Linked DNA regions of Homo sapiens: all the other regions are linked to region 1. Evidence: promoter capture Hi-C in 16 types of primary human blood cells and fetal thymus (Javierre and others, 2016). All regions are on one chromosome and are shown on one strand. The core of a region is centred on a gene start or on the middle of the fragment in contact, and the rest is flanking DNA. Distances in the headings are between cores, read along the strand shown.

What was found. The method cuts DNA at HindIII sites, captures the fragments that hold promoters and counts their contacts. A CHiCAGO score of 5 or more calls a contact.
Region 2: a contact is called between a fragment that was not itself captured here and the fragment with the promoter of LRRN3 in region 1, in 2 of 17 cell types (naive CD8 T cells and activated CD4 T cells). The highest score is 6.8, in naive CD8 T cells.
Region 3: a contact is called between a fragment that was not itself captured here and the fragment with the promoter of LRRN3 in region 1, in 1 of 17 cell types (total B cells). The highest score is 6.0, in total B cells.
Region 4: a fragment that was not itself captured here is called in contact with the fragment with the promoter of LRRN3 in region 1 in 2 of 17 cell types (total B cells and endothelial precursors); the score reaches 6.3 in total B cells.
Region 5: a fragment that was not itself captured here is called in contact with the fragment with the promoter of LRRN3 in region 1 in 6 of 17 cell types (total B cells, M0 macrophages, M2 macrophages and 3 more); the score reaches 14.4 in total B cells.
Region 6: a contact is called between a fragment that was not itself captured here and the fragment with the promoter of LRRN3 in region 1, in 1 of 17 cell types (naive B cells). The highest score is 8.3, in naive B cells.

The regions. Positions count from the first base shown.
Region 1 is chr7:111,089,364-111,092,891 of GRCh38, forward strand. LRRN3 (leucine rich repeat neuronal 3) reads left to right here and starts at 1,764. Exons shown (of 3, transcript NM_001099658.2): 1 at 1,764-2,141. All of the region lies in intron 3 of IMMP2L (inner mitochondrial membrane peptidase subunit 2), which reads right to left. The HindIII fragment of the contact is 3,940 bases long and covers 1,342-3,528 here.
Region 2 is chr7:108,523,889-108,527,416 of GRCh38, forward strand. It overlaps PNPLA8 (patatin like domain 8, phospholipase A2), which reads right to left and starts at 2,247. Exons shown (of 11, transcript NM_001256007.3): 1 at 2,141-2,247. It overlaps LOC124901722 (a long non-coding RNA gene), which reads left to right and starts at 2,587. Exons shown (of 2, transcript XR_007060473.1): 1 at 2,587-3,528. RefSeq lists enhancers at 169-704, 1,384-2,344, 2,116-2,235, 2,526-2,865. The HindIII fragment of the contact is 2,782 bases long and covers 328-3,109 here.
Region 3 is chr7:108,576,129-108,579,656 of GRCh38, forward strand. No RefSeq gene overlaps it. Among named protein-coding and RNA genes, the nearest start is that of DNAJB9, 8.0 kb to the left of the region's middle. RefSeq lists enhancers at 2,868-3,378, 3,379-3,528. The HindIII fragment of the contact is 1,803 bases long and covers 634-2,436 here.
Region 4 is chr7:108,599,050-108,602,577 of GRCh38, forward strand. It overlaps LOC105375448 (a long non-coding RNA gene), which reads left to right. Exons shown (of 4, transcript NR_187939.1): 2 at 2,384-2,529. Among named protein-coding and RNA genes, the nearest start is that of DNAJB9, 31 kb to the left of the region's middle. The HindIII fragment of the contact is 816 bases long and covers 1,147-1,962 here.
Region 5 is chr7:108,617,332-108,620,859 of GRCh38, forward strand. The region is part of intron 3 of LOC105375448 (a long non-coding RNA gene); the gene reads left to right. Among named protein-coding and RNA genes, the nearest start is that of DNAJB9, 49 kb to the left of the region's middle. The HindIII fragment of the contact is 335 bases long and covers 1,514-1,848 here.
Region 6 is chr7:108,634,818-108,638,345 of GRCh38, forward strand. The region is part of intron 3 of LOC105375448 (a long non-coding RNA gene); the gene reads left to right. Among named protein-coding and RNA genes, the nearest start is that of DNAJB9, 67 kb to the left of the region's middle. The HindIII fragment of the contact is 330 bases long and covers 1,645-1,974 here.

The DNA.
Region 1 (3,528 bases), core at 514-3,013:
TCAATGAAAATTAATCACTTAAGATACCATGGCATAAATAAAAATTCTCTTTTTACAAATAATTATCACAATTTTAAGATTATTCTTCCATATGTGGAAATAAATCCTGCAGATACTGAAATAATTTGGAATATTAAAGAAACTAAGATTTGCTAGATTAAAATTAAGGGGTAAGAAGGATGATTATTACTATTATTAAAAGTACATTAAATTATATGTAAATATACTCTAACACAACATCCCAACACTCAACCATGATCCCTAACATACAGAACTGACTCAGTGCTTTCTGAGTAAATACTAGAGTATCCAGTAAATAATAAAACCTTACAATAATATTCTGAAATAAGTATTAGGTTAAATGAGATGCTACTTTTATCTTGAACTTATTTTGATTCATTTGAATAAATTCTTATAGAAAAAAACATTTGGGAACTGTTTCTAGAAAACTACAGAGTGAAAATATTCAGTATTTAAAGACAAGCCTACTGTTTAAAATTTTTCCTGGTATTATTATTATTATAATAACTGCAAACTATTGTTCTATGTCATGTCAATAAGCACTTAAGGAGCAATTAGATGTGAAGGTTTTGTTTTTTTTTTCCTAAGTAAATCTAATAAGTGCCATTTCTCTTTACTCCACTAGAGGGTAGTCTCTCAAAACTGGGGTTGGAGTCATGACTAGCCTGCTTTTGACCTGTTGATATATTAATCCTCATGTTCCATTCTCCTCAACAAGATGTTTCTCTAGTATACTAATTAAGGTTGTAAAACATGCATTTTTAAAACTGCTTTTTGATTTTTCATGTATGTTCTTTCAGAAATATGCACTGCTATGTGTTTCTGTGTTTTCCAAATTTCTGGTAATTAATAAAAATGTTTTACATGTATGGCTTATATAGTATATTTTCCTGGGAAATATCCTTTCAGAGTTAATAGGCCTAAGAATAAAGATAGTCTTTTAAATAATTTAACTTATTACAATCGAAATATTTCCCCAGAGTGGTAAAAAATACATCCTAAATACACACACACACTCACAGATACACAAACACACCTACACATGTACCCATTCATATGTAGCTCCTAGATTTATTACATCATATAAAGAGAAGTCAGTGAGTATAATTAGAAATACATATTTTTAAAAAGTACCCCCTCAAATGCCAATGTTGTGAATTACAGAGAGGCAAATATATGCTTTATTTTAAAAATCTGGTCAATCCAGACAAGAAATGTCATTGCTAAAAAAAAAAAAAAAAAAGTGTTATTGAACACCAAGCACATATGCTAAATTAAGTAGGATCTATAGAGAACCAAATGCCACTCAAAACAGTTGCAAGCTTCTCTTCTTAAATAATGCAGTCATTGCTGAACTTCAGAGACGGAGTTGGAGGTTTGAGTCTCTACCAGGTGTTTTTAATATTTAGGAAATCCTTATCAGTAGTGTGTCCTCTCTATTTGCAGACTGAAAACATATTTCTCTGAATGACTGATAACCTAAAATTGAGAAAACTTGTCAAAAATTCCCAACATTCCCTCAGAAAGGAAAAAAAAGAAGGAAAATGATACCTAGGAAAACATGCAAGCCTGTTTCATTTATTTGTATCCTAAGCAGCAGTGTCATAGAACAGACAGTTTGTTTCAGCCAACCAGACTGGAGCAGCTGCGAGTGCTACATCTTGGCTGTCTGAAGCGATTGGCTCCTCTCTGGGGAGTGGAGGGTGTTCAGTTATTAATGACCGCTGAGCAGGCAGCACCATGTCAGTGTGACAACTGATCGGGTGAACGATGCACCACTAACCACCATGGAAACAAGGAAAAATAAAGCCAGCTCACAGGATCTCTCTTCACTGGATTGAGAGCCTCAGCCTGCCGACTGAGAAAAAGAGTTCCAGGAAAAAGAAGGAATCCCGGCTGCAGCCTCCTGCCTTCCTTTATATTTTAAAATAGAGAGATAAGATTGCGTGCATGTGTGCATATCTATAGTATATATTTTGTACACTTTGTTACACAGACACACAAATGCACCTATTTATACCGGGCAAGAACACAACCATGTGATTATCTCAACCAAGGAACTGAGGAATCCAGCACGCAAGGACATCGGAGGTGGGCTAGCACTGAAACTGCTTTTCAAGGTAAGTTTAAAATACACATATATTTTAAAATACGTTCTATTTCTTGTCTCTTCGATGATCATGTTTTTACACCTAAATCCTCCTTTGATGTCTTCTTCTTGTCTGAATTCTAAGAGCATTTTTCTTTTATTGCACTTTTGAGAAGAAATTCACATGCAAAACCCAGCTGGCTCTGTGTGTGCCTAGCTGTGTTTGTGAGATTCTCCAACATGCATTTTACTAGCTTGAATGCCCATTAGAGGATGTGAGTGGGAGAGAAAAAGCAGTGTTGGGGGGAGGAGAAAAAGGAGGGAGACAGAAGAGAAGGGAACAGTGGGGGAGAAGAGAGGAGGAGAGGGAGAGAGAAGGAGATGGGGAAGAGAGAAGACAGAGAGGAGACAGAGAGGAGAGGAGAGTCACGGGTGATGGGGTGCAATTTTCCTTTTTCTTCACATTATTTGTAGTGAAAAGCAGATCACACATTATTCTCTGTTTTGAAATCAACCCACCAAATGGGGCATTTTTATTTTGTCTCATCCAGTGGATGCAAATTAAGGCAAATGCTGTTGTATGTTAAGAGCTAAACCACTAAGCAGAGTAGCAGAATGAGCATATCACAAACAGTTATTGAATTTCTGCCAGGCTACATCTTACGGACTGGGGTAAATGACTTCCCTTTAATAACATCCCCTCGCTGGTCTGAAGGGACAGTGCAAATGTCTGATTGCTAATGCAGCTGGAACTGCCACACACTAGGTGAAAGGATCCCATGAACCAGAAGAGTTCTAATCTTTGGTAATTAACAGGATCACAGCAGGATGGCTTTAAAGTACATTTCCTATTTAAGAAAATTGTTTGTTCTAACCAACTGCTATATTCCCTTTGCTGTTGTTGAGCTGGATGGCTTAATTCGGCTCTAATTTATTCATTTTTAACAATATGTCCTTGTTTCTCTGCCTCTAATTTCAGTGAAAGCAGGCTATGAATATGAGTAGAACCGTCCTAATTTAGTGAAAAGGGGATAATGTGAAAACAAAAATAGAAGTAAAGGTTCAAAATATCTACCTAGAAAATAGTGTGCTCTGGTACCATAAATATTACTGATATATTTCTCATCTTTAGTTTCAGAAGCAATGCCTTTGAGACAGAATTACTCTCAGTAAACTCTATGAGCATCCATGTATTGATGATTCATGGAATTCAGTGTGGGTTAATTTTTACTTCCAATCTTGTAAAGGGAAGCCAGCTACTTAGAATATGCTTTCAAACAGACAACACCAATTGAGGATATTCATGGAAACATTCACTGCCCTCTTTACTGGGTCCTGGAAAGACAGTAAAAGAAACCTAGCATTTGTATTTCATCTTCTGGAGCTCTCTCCTGCCTTCTTTTAGTTCAACTAACCAC
Region 2 (3,528 bases), core at 469-2,968, 2.6 Mb before region 1:
AGGACTTGACAGCCAAGAATGGGGTAAAGAGAGGGAAGTGTTAAGAGAGCTCTAAGGTTTTAAATCTGAAAAATACGGAGAGTGCCATTTGCGAATATGAGAAAACTGTGAAGGGGACAATTTAATAGGAGAGAAAAACACATTTTCTTTTGGATTCACAGGATGAAGTAACAGTGGGACATTCAAATGGAAATGTACACAGACTGTGGATTTACTTGTGGAATTACCAGCATAGTGGCAGCAGAAACCACAACATTAGACGTATTTACCAGATGATAGTTTACAGTAATAATACATGACTATTTTGGGATCAGGCAACCTGAGTAAAGCTTTTCTTCCTTGAAAAATGTGTATTTGCAATACAAACTATATTTTCCATAATATTTCAGGATATTCACATGCCCACTGAAGTATATTTGGGTTTCAAACACGAAACTCTGGTTTAGGGAGAGCGACAGGGGTAGAGCCTTGAGTGCCACCCAGAGCTAGGAAGAGGAAGAAAAGACTCTAAAGGAAACAAAACAGGAGAAAAGCCACCCTGAAAAAATCAGGACACTGAAAACCAAGACAGGACCAAATTTTTTCAAGTAATGGATAATGAACAGAATAAAATACTTGAGTACTGCAGAGAAAGATAAGAACTAAGAAATGACTGGCCAGGTGCGGTGGCTCAGGCCTGAAATCCCAGCACTTTGGGAGGCCGAGGCGGGCGGATCACCTGAGGCCAGGAGTTTGAGAGCAGCCTGGCCAACATGGGGAAACCCGTCTCTACTTAAAAAAATTAGCCGGGTGTGGTTGCGCACGCCTGTAAATCCCAGCTACTCGGGAGGCTGAAGCAAGAGAATCGTTTGAACCTTGCAGTGAGTCGAGATCGCACCAAGGCACTCCAGCCTGGGCGACAGAGAGAGACTCCCAACAACAACAAAAAATGGCAGGACAGGAAGGTGTCTATGGCTCAGCATTCTAACTCTGACCTTTTTACAAATATATATTCCATGAGTGAAGCAATATGCAGCTTCAGCACAACCCCTCTAACTGGGGTAAAAAAAAACAACTCAAAGTACAGGCTGTTCTTGTAACAACTTTGCATGTGAAACAAGTGAATAGCTAAACTAGTGAAACTGGCCCTTTCATTCAACATCACTCATTAAAAGGGCGTTTACAAGATTTTAATTTAGTCCTGATATAGAAATAAAAAAAGAGATCAACATTAAGAAAAAGTTGATTATAATTACGAAATAAAAACATGTTCTTATATTGAAAGGACAACTAATTTGCATAAGCAATTTAACAAAATAGCTAAAATGGGCTTGATACAACTGCCTCACAAGGCATAAGCTCTTAATGTTTCACTGTTTAACAGCATTTTCTTAATACACTGAAACATTTGTCATTTTTGAACTCTCAGAAATTAGGACTGCAGAACCAGGATACAACTGTTTTGGAATTGAAAACAGTATTTTAAGCAGGATTATATGATAGTCCCTTATGTCACAACTCTCCTGAGTTTTTCCTATGAGTCACCATTTTAAAGTTATCATTGTATTAGGCGTGGAAAGCAGGTTCCTTCCAGCACAATGATAGAAATGACACAGGGATAGGAAGCACTGCAACACAGTGATTCATACACCTTATCCACTTAAGCAACAGCGGTCAAGGATAGAATCAAATGTGGATGGGGTCAGAAAGAGATTACTGACAAAAAATATCAGGCAGTAGAATCACCAGGTGCACACTGACAGTCGAGAATGATGTAGACTAGGGAAACCCTCCTGAGAGTGACCAGTTAACTACTGGAGAACACTACAGTCCAGGGGAAGGCAGACAGACTCTGGAAAATTGAGGAGGGAGTCGTGGGGATGGGACAGGGGGAGCAGGGCGGGACCTGCGAAACCAAATACGGTTTGCGCTTCTGGGGCAGCAAAGCCCACGGGGGCGGAGGGCGCCGAGTACCAATGAGCTCCAGGACCTGCGGGCTCCTTCCAGCGCCAGCTCCTCCCCAAAGCCTGGCGTGTCCCCACCCTCTCGCTCGGGAAGTGCCCTCCAAAGAAAGAAAGGACGACCCGGAGCGCCGGACAAGGGTCCAGAACGATCAACCAGCCTCCTATCGTCCCGCCCCTGTCCCCTCGCGGCTACTTACCGGGATGCAGGCCGCAGTCACTAGGGCTGCAGCGGCGACTCGCTCGTTCCCGGCAATGACGTCCACTCCAACCGGCCTGCATCAGCTGAGCTTCCAACACAAACACTGGCGCAGCAGCTAGGTCGCCACCCACTCAGCCCCGCCCCGCTCCGCCCCCAGCGGAAGTGACGCGCTAGAAGTTTGGGTCTACCCGCGGGCCGGGGTGAGGATTTTCCGCCTCGCTCAGGCCTCTGCCTCCTTGTCAATCTCCGTTCCTCCCCCGCCCCGAGATATGCGCAATAGAGCATGACGGAGCGCAAGGCGGGAAGCCGCGACAGACGTGTGTGCGTGCGTGCGTGCGTGCGTGATGCGCGAGGCGTGGCTTGCTGGTGGGGCGTGCTGTGCCTTGGTTGGTTGCCGGGTGTGAGAGCGGTGGGACTTCGTTTTGCCTTCCTGGGCGGGACCTCGGAGCAGTGTCCTGGTTTGCTTGTTTGCGGGCCGCTATTCCCTTTCAGCAGAGATAAGCCTCCCTCTCCGCGTCCCTGAAGCCCCTGCCTGCGCTGAGTTCCTTGGAGCTGGGGGCTGCGATACCAGTCTCTTGGAGGGTGGTGCCCGGCGCGGCCGCGCCCCTTTCTCTATATCCATTCCTGGGCATGGCCACCCAGACTAAATGTCACTCAAAAGCGAGTTGACATATATTACTGTATTGGAAGTTAGCATAAACCGCCCCACAAATGGTCCCACACGTAACACATCTTTTTAAAATTGTGGCATTTCATACGTACCACAGGGGCAAACTACAGCCCTCAGGGCAAATCCAGCCCACCGCAGGTTCTGCTGTACTAGGAGCTAAAAATGGGTTTCACATTTTTCAAAGGTTAAAAAAAAAGTTTTGCGACAGATGACAATTATATGACATTCATATTTGTGTCTGCTTTTTAAAGTTTCATTAGAACATAGCTTTGCATTCCTATACATGCTGTTAATTAAAGCTTTTATACTACAATAGCGAATTTGGGTAGTTGCAATAGCCCCTTACCCTCTTGAAGTGACCTTGCAATTACGTTGAGGTCGGGAAAACAGATCAGTTTCAACTAGTTATCAACCTCAAAATGTTATCAAGACTTATACTGTACTCTCAAGGCTTACCCACTACCCATGGGTATGTATGCTTTAGCCCCCTGTAAGGTTATTGTAAAGTCCTTAAGGAAGGGGATTCTTTGACCTGTCAAATGTAGTGGATGTTACCCTGATAGTTGTGTTGTTTTGATTTTTTTAAATCAAGGAGGGAAAGCCAGCTTGCTATGTTCTTGGGACACAGTGTCTGGATTATGTACATCATAATGCCTGGTAAACCCCAGCAGTGGATAAGCCAGACATGTTATTTAGCTACAGGAGAGTTAAAAGAT
Region 3 (3,528 bases), core at 285-2,784, 2.5 Mb before region 1:
AACTGATAAAGTATGGAAAAAAAATGTAGCACAGGAGAGGAGAATTGTGAGGGCAGGCAGGTTGAGGATGTGTTGCAATTTTTGACAGGATTGTCAGTGTTGGCCTCATTGAGAAGGTAAATTTGAGCAGATGCTTGAAGGGAATTGTTTGTACTGAAGGTGGAAGCATATGTGGGAAGTTGTAGGAATGGCAAAGAAGTGCGCATAACTGGAGGCCAGTGAGCAAACCAGAGTAGAAGGAGATGAATTCATAGATAAGAGGGGTTGAAAGCAGCCCTACAGATCACCTAGGGCCTTGCCAACCTTTGTAAAGGATTTGATTTTGGAATGTGATATGGTGGCTGAGCTTGGAGCAGATAAATGACTTGATCTTTAAATCATTTTAAAAGGGTCACTCCACGTGCTTTGTTCAGAATAGACAGAGGGGCAATGGTGGAACAAGGAGAGAGTTTGGAGGCTATTTCAGTATTCTAGGATGAGAAATTGTTGCAGCTTGTGCATCGCACGAGGGTGGCAGCAGTGGAAGTGGTAGGAAGTGGTTGGATTCCAGATGTATTCTGCAAGTACAGCTACCAGGATTTGCTTATGGATTAGATGTAGGTGTGAAAGACAGAGGAGAAAACTATGATTCTAAGCTTCATGTTCTGAGTAACTGGAAATACAGAGTTGCCTTTAAGATGGGAGAGGCTGCAGAAAGAAATTTAGGAGGAAAAATCAGAAGTTCAGCTGAGATATATCAAATTTGAGATGATGAGTAAATGGGTGGAGATATGTCTGAAGTTTGGGAGAGAGAGTGAAGCTGGAAATATGCATTTTGGGATTGTCAAAACATGTGATACTTAAAACTTTGAGAGTAGATGAAATTACTGAGGGAATGTGTAGAGACATAAAGAGCAATTGAATAACTGAGTCCCCTGGTACTCTAAAAATGCAAAAAGAAGATGAGGAGCCTACACAGGCATCTGATAAGCAGCAGCCAGTGAGTAATGAGTTTTGTGTCTTGGAAGGAAGTGAAATAAATATATCAAGAAGTAGAAAGCGGCTGGGCATGGTGACTCACGCCTGTAAACCTAGGACTTTGGGAGGCCGAGGCAGGTGGATTGCTTGAGGTCAGGAGTTCGAGACCAGCTTGGCCAACATGATGAAACCCTGCCTCTACTAAAAATACAAAAATTAGCCAGGTGTGGTGGCAGGTGCCTGTAATCCCAGCTACTTGAGAGGCTGAGGCAGGAGAATCACCTGAATCCAGGAGGTGGAGGTTGCGATGAGTTGAGATCATGCCACTGCACTCCAGCCTGGATGACAAAGTGAGACTCTATCTCAAGAAAAAAAAAAAGAAAAGAAAGAAGTAGAAAGTGATCAACTTTGTAAAATACTGCCACTAAATCCAGTAAGACGATGATTGAGAACTAACCATTGTTGTTTTTAGCAATACTGATATCAAAAATGACCTGGATGCCAATTTCTATCAAGTTTTAGGGGTGAGCCTGATTGAAGCAGGTTTAAAACAGAATGGCAGCAAGATTAAGTGCTCTTAAATCATTTGACAAAACATTTGTGGACATAATTTTTATCGTGGACTTTTTAGTAGAGTATCAGCTATGATTCAATCCATGTAGCAATAGCTTATTCTTCAGAATGATGTTCTGCAGGAGTAAGAAGTATGCTATGAAAAAAAAAATCATGTTTAAATAGATTTGTGAAATCTGGGTTGGGATTCAAACCTTGCTAAATATGTTTCTTTTTAGGTGAGTGCTAGGGTTTGAATGGTTATGTCCTCCCCATATTCCTATAGTATTAGTAGATAGGGCCTTTGGGTAATTAGGTCAGGAGGCAGAATTCTCATGAATGGGATTAGTGCCCTTGTAAAAAGGGCCCAAGGGAGATCACTCATTTTTTTCTACATGTGAGGTTAGAGAAGATCTATGAGGAAGAGGGCTGTCACCAGACAGTCAATCTGCTAGTGCCTTCATCTTAGACTTCTTAGCCCCTAGAACTGTGAGAAATAAAGTTCTGTTTTTTATAAGCCACGCAGTCTATGGCATCTTGTTATGCAAGTCTGAACAGACTGAGACAGTGAGCTGCTCAGAATTCTCAACATACTAATCTATGTTGTGAATCTTTGGTAGCGATACCAAATATTGTTTGCCCAATTTATTGGACCATGGAAACATTTTTACTAAGTACCCTTAACCATATCCAAGTGTGCCACAGTAAAAGTTTGGTAAATACTGGCCTAAATAAAAGTGAAAAAAAATCATATAATAAACCTTTGGAACATGTGCATGAACACATACCAAAGCAAGGATGATAGCATATATTATGTTGGTACTTGTGTTGCATTATTAAAAAAAAAGTATTTGAATTTACTATGATTGAAAAAGATTATCCTATCAGAGCCCATTATGATGGGCTTTAGCCTACATTTCATCAACAAGCTTTTCTTCTTTTGATCACTGTTGTAGCTACTTGAATAATATTGTTTCCTCAGGAGTATTTTATACCTACAATAGCCATCATCAAGCAAATTATAAGAGGACTATTATGTAAATGAAAACTCCTTTATTATTCTCCCAAGAAAATAAAAGCTAATAATTTTTGTTGTTATAGTTTTACAATAAGACAGTATTTGCAGACAGAAAAATCAAACTGTGACTATTAAGATAAATGGGAAATCATCTTATAGTCTACTAGGGTTTGGATGTTTGTCCACTCTAAACCTCATGCTGAAATTTGATCCCCAGTGTTGGAAGTGGGGCCTAATGAGAAATGTTAGGGTCATAGGGGTAGATCCCTCACAAATAGTTTAATGCCCTTTCTCAGGAGTGAGTTCTTTATTAGTTCCCACAAGAGATAGTTGTTAAAAAGAGCCTGACACCTCCCCTGTTTCTCTCCCTTGGTTCCTCTCTCGTCATGTGATCTCTGTATACGCTGGTTCCCCTTTGCCTTCTGCCATGAGTGGAAGCAGTCTGAGGCCCTCACCAGAAGCAGATGCTGGAGCCATGATGCACAGCCTCAGAAGTGTAAGCCAAATAAACCTCTTTTCTTTAGAAATTACCCAGCCGCAAGTATGTCTTTATAGCTACACAAAACAAACCAAGACAGTCTAATCCTTTTGGTGGTGGCAGTGGCCCATCTGGAACAGCTGCTGAAGGAACGCCAGTTGCAGTGGAGGAGGCGAAGCCGGGCTGTGCGCTCCATGGAGACTGCAGGAGCCGGGAACAGGTGGGAGCCCTCTGCTCCCAGGCACACCTGCAGCCACCCTGTGCTCTTAGGGTGCCTGGGAAGACCCCTCCCTCTGCAGGCTTGGAAGTGCTTGCTCCCATTCCGTGGACTCCCTGCTCCCAGTGCCTGCTCCAATTTTGGACCAAAGTTGAGGCCCAGCCCACGTGCTGTTGCAACTTGGCCAGGTGTGCATGTGCTTGGGGTGGCACTGACACACCAGCTTCCTGCTGCCTCAGTCCTCACTGGACTTTGGGTGCCAATAAGCATGGGAGGGAGGCTGAGGTGGGGCTGAAGGTGGCTCAG
Region 4 (3,528 bases), core at 305-2,804, 2.5 Mb before region 1:
CAGGATTGGTTCCTTGGCGTTGAACCAAAGAATGAAGTTTTGCTTCATTTGTTTCAGGTTATCGGGGCCAGGTGACTTTCGCTTTGAATTATGCATTTTTCCTTCCCTGACAAATGAAGCCTCCTGCCAATGCCTTCAAATCAGGAAAGGCTCCTGCTTCTCGCATTCAGCAGCAGGCATTTCACAATTTAAAATGATGGGTCCAGAATTGCAGTGAAAGTGGCAATATTTCATAGTGATTTTCTCCCTTCCTTCTCACTCCTACCCCCATGTTCAGTGTTGTCTAAGCAAATTCTGGCAGTGTCTTTTGTATCTGCATGATGCTTAAGTAAGCAAAAGACGGGGGAAAGCAAATGTCTTCCAAATCTTCATTTATCATAAACACAAATTGTAGCTTCAGCTCTTTTGCTTGATGCAAATAAGCTGACAGATGTGTATCATTGGCAGCAAATCTTATAACTGACATGGCCCCAACTGCCGCTAAACATATGTCTATATTTTTGCTGGGAAGGGATAAGATTGGGAAGGAAAATTAATTGGTGTTAATGCTCCCTGACCTCTTGGCTCCACTTCCTCCTTCTCTGCTTCATTCCTTCCACGCACCTTTTCAGAGCTCCAGTCCCCAGAGGGCTAATGGCTTGGCTGTTCCCAGGGTTCAGGGTACCCCTCCTCAGTTTACCTGAATTTCAGGCTATTCATTCTTCCTCTCCTTCATGCATTTCCTTCTCAACTCCCCCAACCACCAACTGCCACCAGTTACTCATCTTTTTCAGTTATTCTCTGGCCTTTGTAGGTAAATGATTGATAATGATTTCTGAGAGTCTGCTAATTCACAAGTATTAATAGAAAATAATAAAATCGAGCATTGTTCTTCAAACATTCCCACTGCAATCCTCTAATGATAGAAAAAAGTGAATGAGTATCTCTAACGGGGCTCAGAGAGGTAGGATGGAAGGTGTATTAGTCAGTTCTCATGCTGCTTATAAAGAAATACCCGAGACTGGGTGATTTATAAAGAAAAGAGATTTAATTGACTCACAGTTCTGCATGGCTTGGGAGGTCTTAGGAAACTTACAATAACGGCGGAAGGCACCTCTTCACAGGGTGGCAGGAGAGAGAATGGGTGCAAGCAGGGGAAATGCCAGAAGCTTATAAAACCATCAGGTCTCGTGAGACTCACTTAATATCACAAGAACAGCAAAGGGGAAACTGCCGCCATGATCCAATTACCTCCACCTGGTCCTGTCCTTGACATGTGAGGATTATGGGTATTATAATTCAAGATGAGATTTTGGGTGGGGACACAGCCAACATCTGACACAGCCATATCAGGAGGTAAGAGAGTAAGTCTGGGGGAAAGAAGCCTTGGGAGAAGGAAGTCTTGAGGGAAAGTTCTTAAAATCTGTTTTAAATTGCCTACCCTTTAAATTACTTGGCCTCACCCTTCTAAAATTTCTAGCAAAATTCACGTTGTAGAAAGACATGCCTTATTCATCCTGTGCTTTTTCAACACACCTGGAACACTGCTGTGTACTTCTGAAGGTGGGCAGAGGTAAACCTTTAATTCAAACAAATAAATCTCCATTTATTATTGATCTTAGCCTTTAACAACTTTTATTAGTATGTTTATATCACAAAGGTAATATTTGCTTTTTTTCTTCAAATAACACCAAAGAGTGCCAAGAAAAATGTTCTGTCTTCTTAATCCCATTCTTTCAGAGATAATCACTAATAATAATTAGCTAGTTATTCTCTCAGACTTTGAAAAATGCATATCATTATATGGTCTATAATTTATTCTAAAATACTTAAGTATCTGTATTTCAGCTTTAATCAATACCTTAGGGCTGATTAGTTAACCTTTGACATGCCCTAGTCAAGGCAAATACTCCAGAGATGATTAGTTACCAATAAAAAACTAATTAGAAGGCCACACTCTAGAAGAACCTAGAACACACTGCAAGCTTTCCAGTTATTTTTAAAATTTATTTAGTATAATGGATATTAGAGATATTTTTTCCTTAGTAAAATTACTAGAGATTAAGATGTGTGAATTGGCTAGAAATATTATATAGGTACTCCTGTCCTTGGTGAATAGGGAACAAGAGTCTAGTTAAGTCCAATTCTATACACTTTGCATGGCATGTTAGGTCTAAGAGTCCATTCTGTCCTCTGTGCATTTAAAAGGGAGAATTTTATCATTTACTTCCAACTAGGTTTACTGAGTACTGTAGGTAGACTATTGTCACATCTGCCTCTGATAAACCTTTAATACAAGGTCAGTTGGAGTGTCTAAAGGAACAGAGAACTGGCACTTGGTCTTACAAGGGGAGATGGTGACTATGTTTGTGCCTGCCTGCTAATAAAATTTTTGTTCCCTCAGCAAAAGTCCATCTGAGACCTGCTTTCATTGCACTGCCTCGTGAGGAGCTGTAGGAGAAGATATCATAACTATTCCCCACTTCTAATTGTTAGAAGCAACAGCTGTCTATCAAGAACAATCTGAGGATTGTGCACAAATTGATTTGGGTCAGTTTCAAACATATGTATAGTAAGATGAATAAATAATAAACAGACATGAAAATATATACTCCTTTAAAAAACAACAAAAATGGGATTATACAATATATACGGTCTGCTCAAAATCTGTTGTGGGGTAAATCTCTAATTCTGGGAATTTTGGGTACCTGCAGGATACTGGTGGAAGTGATTTTTGGGTAAGATGGACTTTTATAAAATTTCAAATTTCTATCATCCAAGTGAATGTTTGTTCTGCTGATGGGTTGAATCATCTCTTCACAGTTGGCCAGGCATTTAATTTTTTTTTTTTTTTTTGAGATGGCGTCTTACTCGGTTGCCCAGGCTGGAGTGCAGTGGCACAAACTCGGTTCACTGCAACCTCCACCTCCTGGGTTTAGGTGATTCCCCTGCCTCAGCCTCCCGAGTAGCTGGGATTACAGGCACAATAACCACACCCAGCTAATTTTTGTAGTTTTAGTACAGACAGCGTTTCACCATGTTGGCCAGGCTGATCTCAAACTCCTGACCTCCAGTGATCTGCCTGACTTGGCCTCCCAAAGTGTTGGGATTACAGGCGTGAGCCACAGTGCCTGGCCCGGAATTTAAAATTTTTTTGTATTTTCTGATTTTCATAGTACAATGCATTCATCATGGAAAGATTAGAAAAATAATTTTTCTTTAAGAAGAAAATTAAAATCATCCATAACTTCCCCATTGGGAGATATGTTACTGACAATTTGATGTGTTTCCTTCCAGTATGAGTGTATGTGCGTAGATATCTTATAAATAAAATCAAACTGCAGGTACAGTTTTCTATCATGATTCTTTTACTTAACATTATATAGTAAGCATTTCCCTAGTTCATTAAAATGACTTGAAAGCATAATTCTATGGTTGTCTAATAATTCCATCATCTAGATATCACTAAACATTTCCCTGTCATTGGACACGTAGATATCTAGATGTTTATTTATTTATTTATTTAGACAGGGTTTCACTGTGTCACAC
Region 5 (3,528 bases), core at 431-2,930, 2.5 Mb before region 1:
ATTACTTATTTAATTTTATAATGGCTGTGGGGAGAGTGTTCATGAAATGTTTTGAGCTCCTCAAATAAAATACATGATACGCTCTTTTCAGGTGAGATTTTCAAATAGATTACAAAATAATTTTTTTTCTAAAAGCGTGGAGAGAAAAAGATAAAAAAAAAGTGAGGAGAAATGAAAGAATTTTATTTGACTTGCAGAATTTGCATTTGAATTATCTATACTTACTAAGATGGCTATGTCTAGTTGTACCTGTCTGATGGTAGCTTATAACTGTAAATGCTTAAAGATAAACAGATCATAGGTTCTGGATGAGGCCGAGCACAGGCTCTAAAAGTCGCATCACACAGCCACCTGCTCATCCTGGCTTTGGGCTCTGCCCCTTGAATGTTTGCCCATCTGACTCCATTTGTACCTCCCTCACTGCTTCCCTGATTCATTTCAGTTTCATTCTCATTTTGGCTATTTCCTCACTTCTAGTTGGTGCTTTCTAGAGTTTCTGGCAAAAGCATGGACTCTGAAGTCAGGTTGCCTGGGTTTAATTCCTGTTCTATTGCTTGCTCTCTGAGTCTCAGTTTCCTTCTCCCTAAAGGAGGGATAGAACCCATCTCAGAAGGTTCTTGTCAATATTCACTGAGATAAGCACAATTTCTGATAAATGTTCATGCTTATTACATGCCAGTTGTTATTATTATTATTATTATTTTTTAGGGTGTTTTTGCTTTTAGCTCAACCTTACGTTACTGTGGCTGTGTGAGCTGGTGTTGCTGTCTTCTGCTTAATTCTGTGGCACAATGTCCTGTCCTAGCTTTCTTCAATCTGAGTGTACCCTCTGCTTCTCTCCCTCAGTTCCACCCCTGGAAGCAGAAGGTTCCCGGGGGTTAGGAGAGCTGCTTCAGTATCATTGCTCTTCAATCTCAGACAATAGCAAACACCCTTCAGATCTTACCAGGTAAGAGATCAGGTTACCAGTGGAACTGACCTGTTGGTTTTGTCATCTGAATAAACACTATAGATCACCTCCTGAATGATTTGGCTTTAGAAATCCATATTCATCATTGGTGGGACTCGCTTGGCTACTACTACTCTATTCATCACTCATTGATTAATTGAAGGTATGCCTGCAGAATTCATGCCATGGACAATGATTCTAATGCCAGCAATGTGGATATTCAAGTTCTTTTGTTTCCAGTCATGTTTTAGGGTGACCGTGACTTGTTTTAATTGTGTATGCCGTCTTTTAGGGAACTCTCATTCAGTCGTTAGCTTGAAATATTTACTGTCACCCAAAAGCCAAGGATTTTTGTTGTCCTGTAGGTTAGAGGTTAGCCTTCTGGGGCCTGAAAGAGGAAAGCAACAAAAACTCAGAGAATTTATTTCCTGCTCATACACAGGAGCTGGGTGGAGAATTTCCTCCCTTGTAAGATCTTGTAGAACACATTTTGGTTTTCTGAAGAATTGGCAAAGAAAAAAGTAGAGTTAAATAATCAAGGAAATAGCACACTATGAACAAAAAAGCTTTAAAGGGTTTTTTACCTATGGAATTAGCCATAGAAAAGCAGCTCTGTTTTTAGAGATGAATCAGTCTTAGCCTATCCTTTAATAACAAATCAGTGAAGCATCTACACCTCCATTTATTTTGAATACCTGTGCTACATCACTGTAACCAATGGTATGTTCTTTTGTCCCACAAATGAGCTGAAGACAGGGCCTTACTTTAATATGGAATATACTGATTTTGTTGGGTTCTATTACCTTCTCACGCTGCTAAAAAGTCTTTTCATGTTCAAATTCCACTGTGTTTTCAATGTCAGTTTTTTTTCTTACAAAAGGAAAAGGGTCCCCTGTGGAAGCTTATGAAAGCTGACACATTTTCTTGTGAAATATCCTTCTGAGACCATATGGTTTATCAGTAAGCACATATTTTTAGACCTTTTAAAATGAGTATTATGAAATTAACATGAGATGTTTTTAGAAAAGTGAATGCTATTGACTCAGTAGGGCAGGATGCCTGTCTGCTTTGTGGTTGTTACTCTTTATAATTCCCTGTGAAAGACGTTTTCAGATAATTAAAAAAGGTATTTGGTCTATGGAGCAAAAAAACTTATCAAAAGAGGTTATATAACACATGCATGGCAGCTACTTGTCAAAGTTAAATATACCCATTTCTTTCCCCACAAAGCCGTTAGATCTATTACCACCTAATTGCTTGGAAAATTCATTTTCTTTTTCTCAAATCACAGCCTTAATTGAGGTCTGAAAGCTCACCAAGGGCCTTTTAAATCAGCAAACCTAACTTAAAAAAAATTCTCCTATAATTTAACTTTGTGGCCAGGGACATATTTTTTTTCTTTGAGACAGTTACGGCAGTCAGTACTAGTAGAAAAACCTCTTGCTTTGAGAAATCAGAGAACTGGGGAGCGTGTCTTACTGTTTCTGGTAATGCACACTGGGGCCAAGAGTTCACAGCAAAGTGAATAGATATTAATTGCAAACATATTATTTAATCATGCTGAAACCAAAATATTTTAAACCAACTTATGTGGGTGTTTTATTGTAAATGTTAGGATGGGAAACACAATCTATTCTGCATTCTGGCTATGGAAATCTGCCCTCCACGTGGCCATCTGCAGGAGTACCATATGTGTAACACACACAACTTTATTCCTTCTTACACCAACCCTAAAGTTTGCACAACAAGAAAAAATTTTCAACTTTGGTTTATGACATATCAGGGTGCTTTCAAGCATAAACAGTGATTAGAATATCTAAATTGATGTTTGAAATCAGGATTAATTTTAATTATATAAGAGAAATGAAAATAAATGTGATTAAAAAAATAAACATAGATGCAACCATTCAGGTCAGGGTTGCTATTTCAAGGAGTCACCTTGAGAAGCTATGAACTAATTTGAAATACTCTACCATTTCTCAAAATGTTTTTGAAACTCCTCATTTGGAATTGCCTCAGAGTTAGTTTTTCATCTGCGTCTCCTTATCACTTTAGAATTACATTTTTGTTACAGATGGTGTTGCCTTGCTGGGGCACTTTATTCACCAAGCTTCACTTGGAGTGAATTTTTGTGTTTAGAAACTTACAGGATATGGTGCAAGCAAGTCCAAATATTTTGTGCAACATCACCCTCTCTGGATTGGCTATGTGCCTCTTCTCCTACCCCAGGATAACTTAGATTTAAAATTGGGAAGGAGTAAGCTGGGTGACTGATATGCATTAGTTTCATTTCATCTTCACAAAGTCCTATAAAGCAGGTATTATTCATGTTATTCAGATGAGGAAACAGACTTAAAATGTTTAAGTAATTTAAGACCTCTTTAAACTAATGTAGACCTGGGAGTTATCTGGGACTAAATTTCAATTTTTTCTTCTACAGCTGTCATCTCCATTCAAGGTGACAACATCATTCTGGAATTACAAGTCCTGTTGTGCTTGTGAAAATTTACAATAGTTTTTAATTATGTTGACCATGTACATACCTATGTAAGTTTGGGCCAGTGCATCAGAGATATATT
Region 6 (3,528 bases), core at 560-3,059, 2.5 Mb before region 1:
TGAATGAGACAAAAGGTGGTCTGAAGTTTATCCTTTATAGGTATACAAAAAGAATTTTTTTGGGAAAAATCATAGTATGAAGAAGACTGGGGTGAACATTGTGTCTTCTATAGATAATGCTGTGTGTGAGAAAATGTGGATGCATTCAGTGTCTGTTCTGCATTGCAAATGCCATGAAATCGGGGACTAGGTCTTTCTTGTTTTTCACTGCATTTCCAGCTCTAGTTTAGTGTCTGCCATGTAATAGCTACATATTACAGACTGAATTGTGTCCTCATAAAATTCATGTGTTGAAGCCCTAACCTCCAATGTGATCTTATTTGGAGATAGGGCCTTTAAGGAGTTAACTAAGGTTAAGTGAGGTCAGAAGTGTGGGGCCCTAATCTGATAGGAGTAGTGCCCTTTTAAGAAGCAGAAGAGAGATCAGATCTCCCTCTCTCTCTCTCTCTCTCTCTCTATCCACACATGCACAAAAGAATGACCATGTGAGGATACAGCAATAAGGCAGTGTCTATAAGCCAGGAAGAGAAGCCTCAACAGAAACCAACCCCAAAGCATCTTGATCTTGGACTTCTCCTAGCCTTCACAACTGTGAGAAAATAAATTTCTGTTGTTTAAGCCACCCAGTCCGTGGTATTTTGTTATGGCAGCACTAACAGACTAATACACTACCCCCTAAATCTTTGTAAAGGAACAAAGGAAAGAAGAAAGACAGGAAGGAGAAGAGATTTATCTTTTCTACTTACTGTATTGTGTGGTCTTGGGCAAATCACTGAAGATGCCTCTATTTCTTTTTTTTTGAGACCAAGTCTTATTCTGTTGCCAGGCTGGAGTGCAGTGGCACAATCTTGGCTCACTGCAACCTCCACCTCCTGGGTTCAAGCGATTCTCCTGCCTCAGCCTCCCAAGTTACTGGGACTACGGGTGCATGCTACCACACCTGGCTAGTTTTTGTATTTTTAGTAGAGATGGGGTTTCACCACTTGGCCAGGATGGTCTCGATCTCTTGACCTCGTGATCCACCCTCCTCAGTCTCCCAAAGTGCTGGGATTACAGGCGTAAGCCACCGTGCCCTGCCCAGATGCCTCTATTTCTTAATGGACACAATGCAGATGAAAATAAGACCACCTTCTCAGGTTTTTAGGGAAGGGTAAATAGGAGAGTATATGTAGGCTACAAAATACTATTAAAATATTAGTTGCTCGCTTCAACAAAAGCACTCATTTGATGACTTCTTATTGTGAATTAGTGAAGACTTCTTGCTAGACTACGAGGTCCAGAAATAATCGTTCTTATTATTAACTGCAGAAGTAATTAACACATATTTAAATCTGTATTTTAGGGAATAAAAAATATGATTGTCATTTTTCTTCAACTTCCGTAGCTGTTTCTTTCCAGGCTTTTCAGAAAATAGTGACATAAGATCATCTTATATTTATATTTCAGTTGCTTTGCATGAAAATTTGTGGAACTCTCCCAGGTTTTCTGTGTTAAATGTCATCAACAATAAAGGTAATGCATGCCATTCCTTGCAATCTGGTATTGATGTCTTCCTTCTGTCCTGAATCCTTGTAAGAAATAAAAAAAAAAAAAAGATTTAAAAAATTGCCAAGAGGCACCAAGCGATCCATGAACTTTTAGGGAAGCTTTATGAAACAAGGTGTGGTGAATTTCAGTTATACAGGATGATTAAGTTGTAGAGATCTGCTGTACAACATGATACCTACAATGAACAATATTGTGCACTTCAAAATATGCTAAGACAATGGATCTTATGTTAAATTTTACCAACACACACACACACACACACACACACACCTGCACACAAAAGAACACAATATCATTTTGGAGGTGACATATATGTTTAGTACCTTGATTGTGTGATGACATCACAGGTATATGTGTATGTCCAAACTAATTAAATTGTATACAATAAATATGTGCAATTTTTGTATATCAATTGCATCTCAACAAAGCTTAAACAACAGCAAACCAAAATGTGTTCTGTTGGAATCAGTTTGCACTGGCTTGTGAGAGCCAATTGTTACATTTTTATGAATTTTATGAGCCTAATATTAAGCACAACTATTATTAAAAGCTAAATGATATAAACTTACAATTAAAAAATTAAATTTAAAACACAGGTTATTACTCAGAACATATCATTTTCTAATTACTGCACTCCATTTCATGATTATTAGTAATCTTGGAGTTGTTTACATTTGCTATGTCTGCCCAAAGGGAATAAACCTAATGGTGGGAGGCTGCATAGCTCCTTCCAAATGGGTGTGCAGTGATGTTACCTTAGTAGCTTGAAACAGGATGGAAACTGGCAAACACTACAAACCTGAGCTTTCCTGTTCTCTCCACTGGAGACCTGTGGTTAAACATTTACCCACAGATGACGGGGTCAACAAGCAGAAGTGGCTGCAAGTGGCCCTTCAAGGTGCTGTCAGGGTTGGTTTCTCATTCAGGATGGCCTGGAAAACAAACCAGCCACGTCCTGGAAGAACCCTTTTCCCAGTGTGGGGTGGGAGTGAGGCTGTACCAAACATAACTTTCCATGGGACCAGGTACTTCTCTCCAGCAGGTGGATGGCAACATCTCATGTGCTCCAAAGTCTCCAGAAGCTGGGCAGTTGGTGTTTCCAGACAAACACTGTAAGGGCTGGCTCCCCAAAACAGAGTACCTGGGGCAAGCCGCCTGTGTACTTCCCAGTGACAAGGCTATTTTCTCAGTTGGCTCAATAAAGAAGACAGAATAACATGTTGCAAGGCCCATGGGAATGCAAATCCCAGCTGTGGGCCCAGCAGGGCCATGGCCTAAGTATGCATCCTTCTGATGTAAGGGCAGAAACGGTGGGACCCAGGACTTTCCTTTCCTTCTTGCTTCTCCTGCTTTCTCTTTTCCTTAACAAATACAAGAGCCATACCATGTAATACTGTGCTATGTGCCCTGAATTGTGGTATAGGTGAGATGAGACACAAGACCAGCAACAGAAAGAAAAAAAAAACAAAAACAAACGCTTACAAATCTGAAAGCTATGTTAACAAGACCTAGCCATCCACATAGCATCTATTTCATTTTTTGTATCGCATCCTGAGAATTTCTTGCTTATGACATTCAAAAATTTGTTTTTACCTCATATTATTATTAAAAGATGGTTTGCAAAAATACATACATTACATCATGTTGGAATAAATTAAAAATAATTGGGGAATTTGGACAAAGGGAATATGTATAATAGAAGTAGAGGAATTCCAGAATATACAGATGCTAATTATGATATCATAGATCCTTGCAAGAGGTAGACAACAAGTTTTCTCTAGCAGCCATCATGAAGAAGAAAACACAACCATTATATTCACAGGGCCCTTAAGGCACCCACAAACAGACTGTTTAGGAAAAGTACAACTATTTCTGATTCTGCGACAATAGGACCATTTTTGATGTAGTGATTGACGTCCTCAATGACATCCTACAGTTAATATAACATTTAATTTCATTGTGCTGTTTAGTATAATGGCT